Regions from separate parts of the Homo sapiens genome. Here region 1 is linked to region 2. Evidence: promoter capture Hi-C in 16 types of primary human blood cells and fetal thymus (Javierre and others, 2016). All regions are on one chromosome and are shown on one strand. The core of a region is centred on a gene start or on the middle of the fragment in contact, and the rest is flanking DNA. Distances in the headings are between cores, read along the strand shown. Region 1 has its middle 23 kb from the start of CGA. Region 2 holds the start of SLC35A1 (solute carrier family 35 member A1).

Evidence for each region. The method cuts DNA at HindIII sites, captures the fragments that hold promoters and counts their contacts. A CHiCAGO score of 5 or more calls a contact.
Region 1: a contact is called between a fragment that was not itself captured here and the fragment with the promoter of SLC35A1 in region 2, in 1 of 17 cell types (activated CD4 T cells). The highest score is 5.5, in activated CD4 T cells.

Annotation. Positions count from the first base shown.
Region 1 is chr6:87,115,260-87,120,154 of GRCh38, reverse strand. No RefSeq gene overlaps it. Among named protein-coding and RNA genes, the nearest start is that of CGA, 23 kb to the right of the region's middle. The HindIII fragment of the contact is 4,802 bases long and covers 1-4,071 here.
Region 2 is chr6:87,471,724-87,476,586 of GRCh38, reverse strand. SLC35A1 (solute carrier family 35 member A1) reads right to left here and starts at 3,613. Exons shown (of 8, transcript NM_006416.5): 1 at 3,568-3,613. The coding sequence starts at 3,583. It overlaps LOC124901357 (a long non-coding RNA gene), which reads left to right and starts at 3,642. Exons shown (of 2, transcript XR_007059668.1): 1 at 3,642-3,814; 2 at 4,089-4,863. RefSeq lists enhancers at 2,745-2,844, 2,895-3,064, 3,060-3,966 and a silencer at 3,515-3,654. The HindIII fragment of the contact is 12,962 bases long and covers 1-4,863 here.

The DNA of each region.
Region 1 (4,895 bases), core at 421-2,920, 350 kb after region 2:
TGTTCTCACTTACAAGAGGGAGCTGAATGATGAGAATACATGGACACATGCGGGGGAACAACGCACACTGGGGCCTGTGGGGAGGGGGTTGGTGGGGGGGAGGAAGAGCATCAGGAAGAATAGATAGTGGATGCTGGGCTTAACACCTAGGTGATGGGATGATTTGTGAAGCAAACCACCATGGCACTTGCTTACCTGTGTAACAGTAAGCACACGTACATCCTGTACACGTACCCTGGAACTTAAAAGTTGAAGAAAAAGAAAAAAAAGGATGGCTTCATCAACACAGATATTTTGAATTCTCCCTATGTTTTCACTCTAGAATTTTCATTCTCAAGGCGATTCAATACAGTCAGTTTTGGAATGCATGAAAGACATGTCTTTCTTTTGTAATTGAAAATGCAACTGTGAAAGGTGAGGGGAGATAGGAAGAAAGATAGGAAGAAAGAACAGGCATATACTAGGTCAAGTTTTCTATAACTAATGTATGCCTTCTTATTAGTGAACTTTTTGTTTGTTTGTTTGCTTGTTTTTGAGATAGTCTCACCCAGGCTGGAGTGCAGTGGTGCACCTTGGGAGGCTCGCTGCAACCTCCGCCTCCCAAGTCCAAGCGATTCTCCTGTCTCATCCTCCTGAGTAGCTGGGACTACAGGTGTGCACCACCAGCCCGGCTAATTTTTGTATTTTTAGTAGAGAGGACATTTCACCACGTTGGCCAGGCTGGTCTCGAACTCTTGGCCTCAATCAACCTGCCCGCCTCAGCCTCCCAAAGTGCTGGCATTACAGGCATAAGCCACCACATCTGGCCTTCTATTAGTAAACTTTGAAAGGTCAGTTGATACCTTGTGTGGTTCCAAAAAGGTTTTAACAGCTTAAAAAGCTACAAATAATAAAGCAAAATAAAATGAGGGAACCAGAGTAAATGGAACATCAGGGTTTAGGAACGCTTTTACACTGTTGGTGGGAATGTAAATTAGTTCAACAATTGTGGAAGACAGTGTGATGATCCCTCAAGGATCTAGAGCCGGAAATACCATTTGACCCAGCAATCCCGTTACTGGGTATATACCCAAAGGATTATAAATCATTCTACTATAAAGACACATGCACATGTATGTTTATTGCAGCACTGTTCACAATAACAAAGACTTGGAACCAACCCAAATGCCATCAGTGATAGACTGGATAAAGAAAATATGGCATATATACACCATGGACTATTATGCAGCCATAAAAAAGAATGAGTTCATGTCCTTTGCAGGGACATGGGTGAAGCTAGAAGCCATCATTTTCAGCAAACTAACACAGGAACAGAAAACCAAACACCACATGTTCTCACTCATAAGTGGGAGTTGAACAATGAGAACACATGGACACAGGGAGGGGAACATCATACACCAGAGCCTGTTAGGGGGTTGGGGGAAAGGGCGGGGAGAGCGTTAGGAGAAATACCTAATGCATGCAGGGCTTAAAACCTAGATGAAGGGTTGATAGGTGTAGCAAACCACCATGGCACATGTATACTTATGTAACAAACCTGCACATTCTGCACATGTATCCCAGAACTTAAAGTAAAAAAAGAAAAAAGAAAAAAAAAAAGAAAGTAACATAAAGCTAAGAGCAAGTTTGGAGCACAGAACATAGTGAGAGGCCCTTCATTCTCTTGTTAAGTTCAGGCCATAACTGTGAGTACAGTAGTCCCTTCTTACCCACGATTTCATTTTCCATGATTTAATACTAAAGTAAATCATGATTTGAAAATATCCAATGGAAAATTTCAGAAATAATTCATGCATTTTAAATTGTAGGCTGTTCTGAGCAGTGTGGTGAAATCTCCTGCCATCGCACTCTGTCCTGCCCGGGATGTGAATCATCCCTTTGTCCAACATAAACACGCTGTATATGCTACCTAGTCATTAGTCATTTAGTAGGCCACTCAGGTATTAGTTAGGAATGACTGGGAGCACAGTTCAGAATCCTAACAAGGCAGCCACCTCACCTCTGCACAGAGATGCCTGTGGCAACACCTTTGCAGAGGGCAAGATTCTTCTCCAAAAGTAATATGTGATGAGCTCTAAAACACAGATAAATGAGATCTCAGAAGGTCAAATTCCATCACTCTAATCATGTCCACAATTATTTTACCTTGGAAAAACTTTGGGCAACTATAATTGAACATTGGCCTTAGCCATAAAACTATTTCAGAAAAGGAACCACAGAGTGTATAACTTTAAGAAATATAATTTCCTGGTGAACATATTAAGTTAAAGTGTAAAATATTGATAATGGACTTATGGAGTTGTAAATTATGAACCAGTTTACTGTTGGGTAATAGTGAACAAAAATAATGGTTTAATTCTAGAGTACTTGGTCTCTAGCTCCTTTTTGGGAAGTAATGGGATAGGAAGGTTGATTCTCTCTTAAAGCCAATCTTGGAGTACTTGAAATAGAGGCATGTCATCTACATATAAAAGAATATCTTCCTTATTTTCAGAGTAGGGTCATATATCTAAATCATAGTGTCAAATAATAAAGGTAATGTAAAAGAGTGAATATTACAGATTCCTATTTTGCCTCAATGGAAATTGTTAGCTGATACATGAAGAAACCACTTCCCCACCTCCAGAATAATGCTTAAGCAAATGCAAATATATACAGATTCTAAATGGGCATCAAAAGCAAAACAAAACAAAATTTTAAAGTGAGTTTATTCACTGTGACCAATAATTCATTTTGTCCTCTAAGTCAAAGGAGTAGAAGATAAATGAAAGCCTAGAAAATTATTATATGATTTGTAACAGAGCCAGTAACACTTATCAATTGTTTCATTTGATCCTCTTGCATTTTCCAGCCCCCTTGTAGTTAGTGAGCTCATGTGACTAGCTTTGGTCAATAAAATGAAAGCCAAATTGATCTTCAGGCAGAGGTAGTAAAAAGTCTATGTATAATTTTCTAGTCTCTTTTTTCTCCTGATTGAGGAAGTTGTGTATTCCCTATGGGGCATCTACAAGTTGGTGGGCATTGGCCAACTTAGGTCTCTGAGTGACTACGTGGAGCAGGGACTTTTGCTGACCTGTAATAGACATGTATAATGAGCAAGAAATAAATTTTCACTATTGGCCAGGTGTGGTGGCTCATGCCTGCAATCTCAGCACTTTGGGAAGCTGAGGTAGAAGGACTGCTTGAGTCTGGGAGTTCGAGACCAGCCTGGCCAACATAGTGAGATTCTGCCTCTACAAAAAATAAAAAAGTTAGCTGGGCATAGTGGAAAATGCTGTAGTCCTAGCTACTCAGGAGGCTGAGGTGAGAGGATTGCTTGAGCCTGGGAGTTTGAGGCTACAGTGAACTGTGATCTTGCCACCATATTCCAGCCTGGGCTACAGAGCAAGACCTAGTCTCAAACAAAGCAAAACAAAACAAACAAACAAACAAAAACTTTAACTATGTTAAGACACTGAGAATTCAGGATTAATTTGTTACTACCATATAACCCAGTCTATTCCAACTAATACAGTTTTTGTAATAGATTTCTCCACAAGATAATAAGAGAGGTTAATAATGTTAATAAGGAAATAGCTTTATCTAAAGAATGCCTGATCCTCATGGTGAACCTTGGTTTGAGAATCCTAGCATTAGTTTAAAAAGCATGGAGCTAGAATACACATTGGAAGAAAGATATAATAAGCTAGTGGGTTAAAAAATTCCCCTTTACAAAATGGGAATAAAGCATTTCTGGGATCTAAACTCACAGGTTTATGTGTGTAAAGTTAATAAAGGTAAACAAGGTAGCATGCATTTAAAGCAATGCTTAAGGCATACCAATTCTAGGTCAGAAAATGTTGCGCTATTCTTTAATTCATTTAGGTTGTGCTTTTAAAGTGAGTATACTACATGTGAGAACAATGCTGATATCCAGTCAGAGAGCATTCTGGGAGGGGAAAAGTCTGAGTTTGGGTTTAAACCTTTGTAAAATGACGATAACATTTTCTATCTTTCAGGGTAGTTATGAGACATAATTATATCAACATGATACATACTAACTGCTTAGTCTATCTGAAGGAAAAACAAGCTTTCTTTTTTTCTTTCTGCTATACTGTCACAGTCAACACAGAACACTTATGTGACCAGATGTGTGAGGGGTTTCCCCCGCAACATATCCAACAGACACCAGCTGGGTGTCCTATGATTCAATTCAATTCTGACACTATCTATCTGGAGATCTCACAGGCTAAGAGCTCAGCCCACACTTCAGATGCCAATTACAAGCAATAGGTTATCATGTACACTCCTAACCAACTTTGTATAACCTGAGGTTCCCATGCTTCTCCTCCTTGGGTTTAACAAATTTGCTTGGATGTGTCAACCTAAATAACACACAAAAAGAGGCTCTCTAAGAGAAAAAGATATTTATGTGGGGATAGAGCATTGTAATGGGAATATGCATGCCATAGTAAATTATGTGCATATTCAAGGATGTAAAGGAAGACAAAGGTTTTTAAAGTAAAAAAATGAGGGGGATTACATCATTGTTTTGAAATAATTATACTTAGCTAGAAGGATCAAAGACAAGGGTGACACCGGTCTGAGGTTGAGCAAGCAGTTGCTGGGCAGATGTCCTTGCAGAAGCCTTTTTTTGTGTATGGTTGTGATGGTCTTATGCAAAGAGGTAGTTTTTGCAGAGTCTTTTGTGATAGCTTTTGTTATTATCAGATATAAAAGCATGAAAACCTCTCTTCATGGCTCTATTTGTCAGGCTTTTTGTTTGTTTAAACGTTAGTGACTTCATTTTGATTCTGATAACTTTCACATTTCCTCCTTTCGGTCAAGATCTTTGTCCAAAAGCATCACTCACTGATCAATCATCCTGTAGGTAGGTCTTAATGTCCCTTGGTGCT
Region 2 (4,863 bases), core at 2,364-4,863:
CACCCAGCTAATTTTTGTATTTTTAGTAGGGAAGAGGTTTCACCATGTTGGCCAGGCTGGTCTCGAACTCCTGACCTCAGGTGATCCACCCACCTCGGCCTCCCAAACTGCTGGGATTACAGGCATTAGCCACCACGCCTGGCCCCAGCACATATTTTAAATATTTTTATGATTACAAACTTGTGGATGCAAAGCATGAAACCAACTGCAGCAATGTATATTCTAGATTTAAAGGCAGCAGAAAGAAAATAATAATTGAGAAATGAGTGGGGCTTAATATAAAACTTTTTCACAATAAGAACTTACAACTAGCCACTCATTTCATTGCATTATACAAAACAATAATTCATAACACAGGAAAAGAATATTAAGAACACACCTCTATAAAACTAGAAATGCAGGAAACATATAAACACTTAATTTAAGAATTGCCTGCAAGTATATCTGAGCAGCAGCCATCTCTCAGGCACCAGAGCCTGTCCAAGACCTTTGGTAAAACCATAAGCAGTGGGTACCAAGTCTCCCTCATACTTCCTTATTCCCAGACCTGCTCGGGTACTGCCATCACCCAAGGATCAAACTATTTCTACTTTCCTCACCCACCTCCCACCTATTGTCCCCCAGTTCCCCTTCACCTCCATTCAAATCTTTAGGCTCAAGGTTAAACAGGGATCAGCAAATTTTTCTGCAAAGGGCCAGAAACAAATATTTTAGGCTTTCCAGAGCCATACTTTGACAACTCCAGGTTAAGAACCAGAAGGACACCAGGTGACTCCAGCCTGCTACTTTAACTACATTATATGCTAAGTAAGATTTTGTTCACTGCTTTGGGAGCCTAATCACAATTCAAAGATAGTTTTCATAGGGAAATAAAACAGGAGTTTCAAACAGATTATCTTTAGATACAGTATGGTTGGATCTTACAAGGAAACAGGTTCTTCAATATAAATATTTTCCCGAGTGCATTAAAGAATATTTTCTGAATTGTAGGCAATTTTTAAAAACCATATCAGGTTTTAAATAAAAAGTAAAACAGAAGAAATAGTTTTTAACTGCTTAAACTTTCTTTCCAAAAGATCTGAGGAGCCAAAAAATCAGTGTTTATATAAAAGGAAGTGAAGGAGATCACTATAATACTTCCTTTGTTCTAAAACTTTCCTACACAAGGGAAGAAATATGACTTCAAAAATATACAGCAATAACCTTTAATCAGTAGAAGAGAAGGCACTTCCCATCTTCTAGATAAAGGGTGAACAAACTATATATGTCGCCAGTTTACATGAGGCCTGTGAACTCACGATTGTTTTACATTTTTAAATGGTTGATAAAAAATGTAATAACATCTTGTGATATGTGAAAATTGCAGGAAATTCAAATTCTAGTGTCCATGAATAGTTTTATTAGAACATAGCCATGCTCATTTGTTTCTAAATTATCCAGGCTACTTTTTTTTCCCTACAACAGCAGATCTGAGTAGTTATGACAAGAGACTATCCAGCCCTTCACAGGAAAAGTTTGCCATCTCATGTCCTAGATTATCAACACTTTCATAAATAAGAGAAGTTAGGGCTGATAAACTAAAAAGTACTTTATTTTAGCTACTGTACAGGTTCCTGATTCCAAAAACAACAAAGTGAATATTTAAACACTAAACCAAATATTGATAGCCTACAAACATATTCTGACTTATAATATTGTCATTAACTTGAAAAAATACCTTTTTGCATAGTGAGTATATGGGAATATATATTATATTCTTGAAAATAACTACTGATCTAAGTGGAAGGGTAATCAAATAAGTTTAGGTATGTGCAAAACAGATTGGGCTTTGACATGGAATACCAGTTTTTAAACGTATTTCAACTTTTAAATACTAAATGTTTTTAAGTACGATTTTCTCTGGCAGTTTAACATCAGACCAAACTATTTCTTGTTCACTCCATTCACAAATTCTCCAGTATAAAACTTCAGTTATTAGCAATTTCAATTATTTCAGGGTAACAGCAAAAGTCCATATGTAATCACTTCAAATTGGGCAAATAATTCAAATCACACCCAATGCCAGTAACTATAAAGCTAGCCCACAACTCAACTGGCAGCCACATCTTAACCCTGCATTGTTCCCTGCTTCTCACGAAATTCTATTAGCTCCCATATAGTGTTTGTGTGGAAATGTCCCCCAAAAGAAACTTACAGTTTAAAATGTTTTTTTTCGGTTATGTTTTACTATAGTTTATGGGGACATTATTTGTAATACTTAAGAACTTAGAAATTCTGTAAGTCCCAGATAAATCCTTTGTGGATATTCGGAAACTATGGAAACTGTAGTTTTGTTAGGATTACAATCAAGGCTCAACAAATATGTATTGGCAATAAGCCTAAACCTTTACATTGTTGCAGCTATTTCAAGTAATGATTTGACTTCTGTAATTTATAAGTTTTCGTTCGGATCAATTTTGCTATCCCCATTCCATTTTAGTTATCAAAACAATTCTATTTCTTTTTCTTTTATTTCCTGTGTTGCTACAAAAAAAGGCTTTTAAGATTGGACTTATTTGAAATGAAACAGAAAGAAGACATAAGAGAAGCATATGCAACTAAAGACAATGCCCCTGGGCAGGGCCTGATGAGAAACATGGACCCCGCAACAGGGAAAATAACTTGAAACCCACGCAAGAAGATATTCCTTATGTATTCGTTCAATATTTATTCAAGGGTGAAGCCAAGTGCTCTATGGAGGAAGGGTGGAGCAAGAATCCGGGTGTTGCCCAACTTCTCCTGGTTAATGCACCACAGTCAAAGAATCCACCTCTGGTCCCAACTTACACACACTGCTCAGCAAAAAGTGGTGCGGAGTCAATTAGACTCGCCCTCCTTAAATGTCAATTAGTCAACAAATACGCCTTCACCCGAATGTGCCATCCCTCAGGAGGAGGGAGGTGGATCTCAGCTTCCACCCCAAATAGCAGCATACAGCATTCTCTATAATTACACACAGCATACAGGTGGGAACTGTTAACGACTGTTATCTTCCTTTCGTTACGATTTCAGTGCTGTTTTGACGCCCCAGTGATGTCTTTAGTGGTTGTTGCATGGCCCAGCCGCCGCATGGGATCTGCGCCCGGAGCCTGCCTTTAAGCCTCTGAGCATCCACAGGGTAGGAGGCGCAGAGGAGACCGGAGCCGCGGGGCCAGGGTGAAGAACTGTCCTGCCTCGCTGGGTAATGCGGTCCAGCCCCGGACCCACGCCCTGGCCTCTCTCCGGGTCCGCCGCAGCCCCGGCCTGTCAGAATTCGGTTCCCACCCACTCCCAGCTAGTGGAGGTCAGTGCGGTCTCTGACTCCGACCTGCCCAGCGCGGAGTCAGCCGCGGAGACTGCAGCCGCAGCGGAAGGCAGGCTGCCCTGACTGCCGGGAGCGGCTCCACGCAAACTCCTGACGCCTCAGCCAGGCCCCAGAGGCACTGGGCAACCAGGGTGCTCCGCTGCCCGACAGGGGCTGACCAGCGCAGATGCTCGCCCGCCGCCGCCCCCCGCGGACTCCCCACTCCCAGCAGACCCAGTTCTCACCTCTCGGGGCAGCCATGGTTCCCCGACAGCCCCCCGCGGAACTGACGCCCGCCCCCTCCGCGCCCCCGCGCAGGACACCGGGGACCGCCCCTTGTGGTCATAGAGACGAAGCCGCTCGGCCTAGAGCGCCTCGCCGGCCTCCCGGTCGGCCACGCACTAAAACTGGGCTCAGGAATCCAAGCTACACCCCAAAATGGGGAGAACGCGGATCGAAGGGAGGCCTTCCCGGCCGCGTCCTAGGTGACAGGTGTGTGAAATTCGGTTGGGGAGGTAGTTCTGTAAACTGCGTCTCCCCGCCAGCTAAGGAAGTTGAGTGAAGGGAGCGTTGCCGTCTGGGAATCGTAGTCCTCACAAAGGCGTGAGTAGGCGGCAAATAAGGATTTGGGTTTAGCCTTGGGGATTCACTCCTGTCAAAGCTGTTAGAGAAGCTCCCAGAACTCGTAAAGTAACAGAAACTACTTGCGGCAACATTTGTAACTTCCACCTGGCTCATTATCTTCCACTGTTACCTTGTGTTCTAGATAAGTTATAATTTATTCTACATATCGTTCAGAAGTCTTGTGCCTGTTCCATATCGTCAGCAGTCATCGGTTGTATTTACCCAGCCAGGCATTCTAACTAATGATCTTCGCACAACAAAACGGCCTTTAAAAAATCAGATGTATCGGCCGGGCGTGGTGGCTCACGCCTGTAATCCCAGCACTTTGGGAAGTCGAGGCAGATGGATCACCTAAGGTCAGGAGTTCGAGACCAGCCTGGCCAATATGGCGAAACCCCGTCTTTACTAAAAATACAAAAAATTAGCCGGGCGTGGTGGCGCGCACCGGTAATCCCAGCTACTCAGGAGGCCGAAGCGGGAGAATCACTTGAACCCGGGAGATTGCAGTGAGCCGAGATTGCGCCCCTGCACTCCAGCCTGGGCGACACAGCGAGACTTCGTCTCAAAAAACAAAAAAAATTAGATATATCAACAGGCATTTTAACCACTATAATCTCCACTTTCACTAGGGGATGTTAATTAGCTATCATAATTGATATTAGAAATAATTCATTGGTGAAATAAATGATGTTCAAGATATGTGGATTGGTTTAAAATAATATGAAAATACCTCAGCACTTACAGGAATAGGGATGCAAGATTCTGAGCTGCCCAGCAGCCCACACCTTCTGCAGCATGTTCTTTCCCCAAAATTGTCCTTTTAGAGGGTTGGTTGTATACCATTGTCTTGTTAAATATACATATAGATATATCTGGTCTGTTAACATTGTTGGAACATTTTGCATGCCTTATTAGCA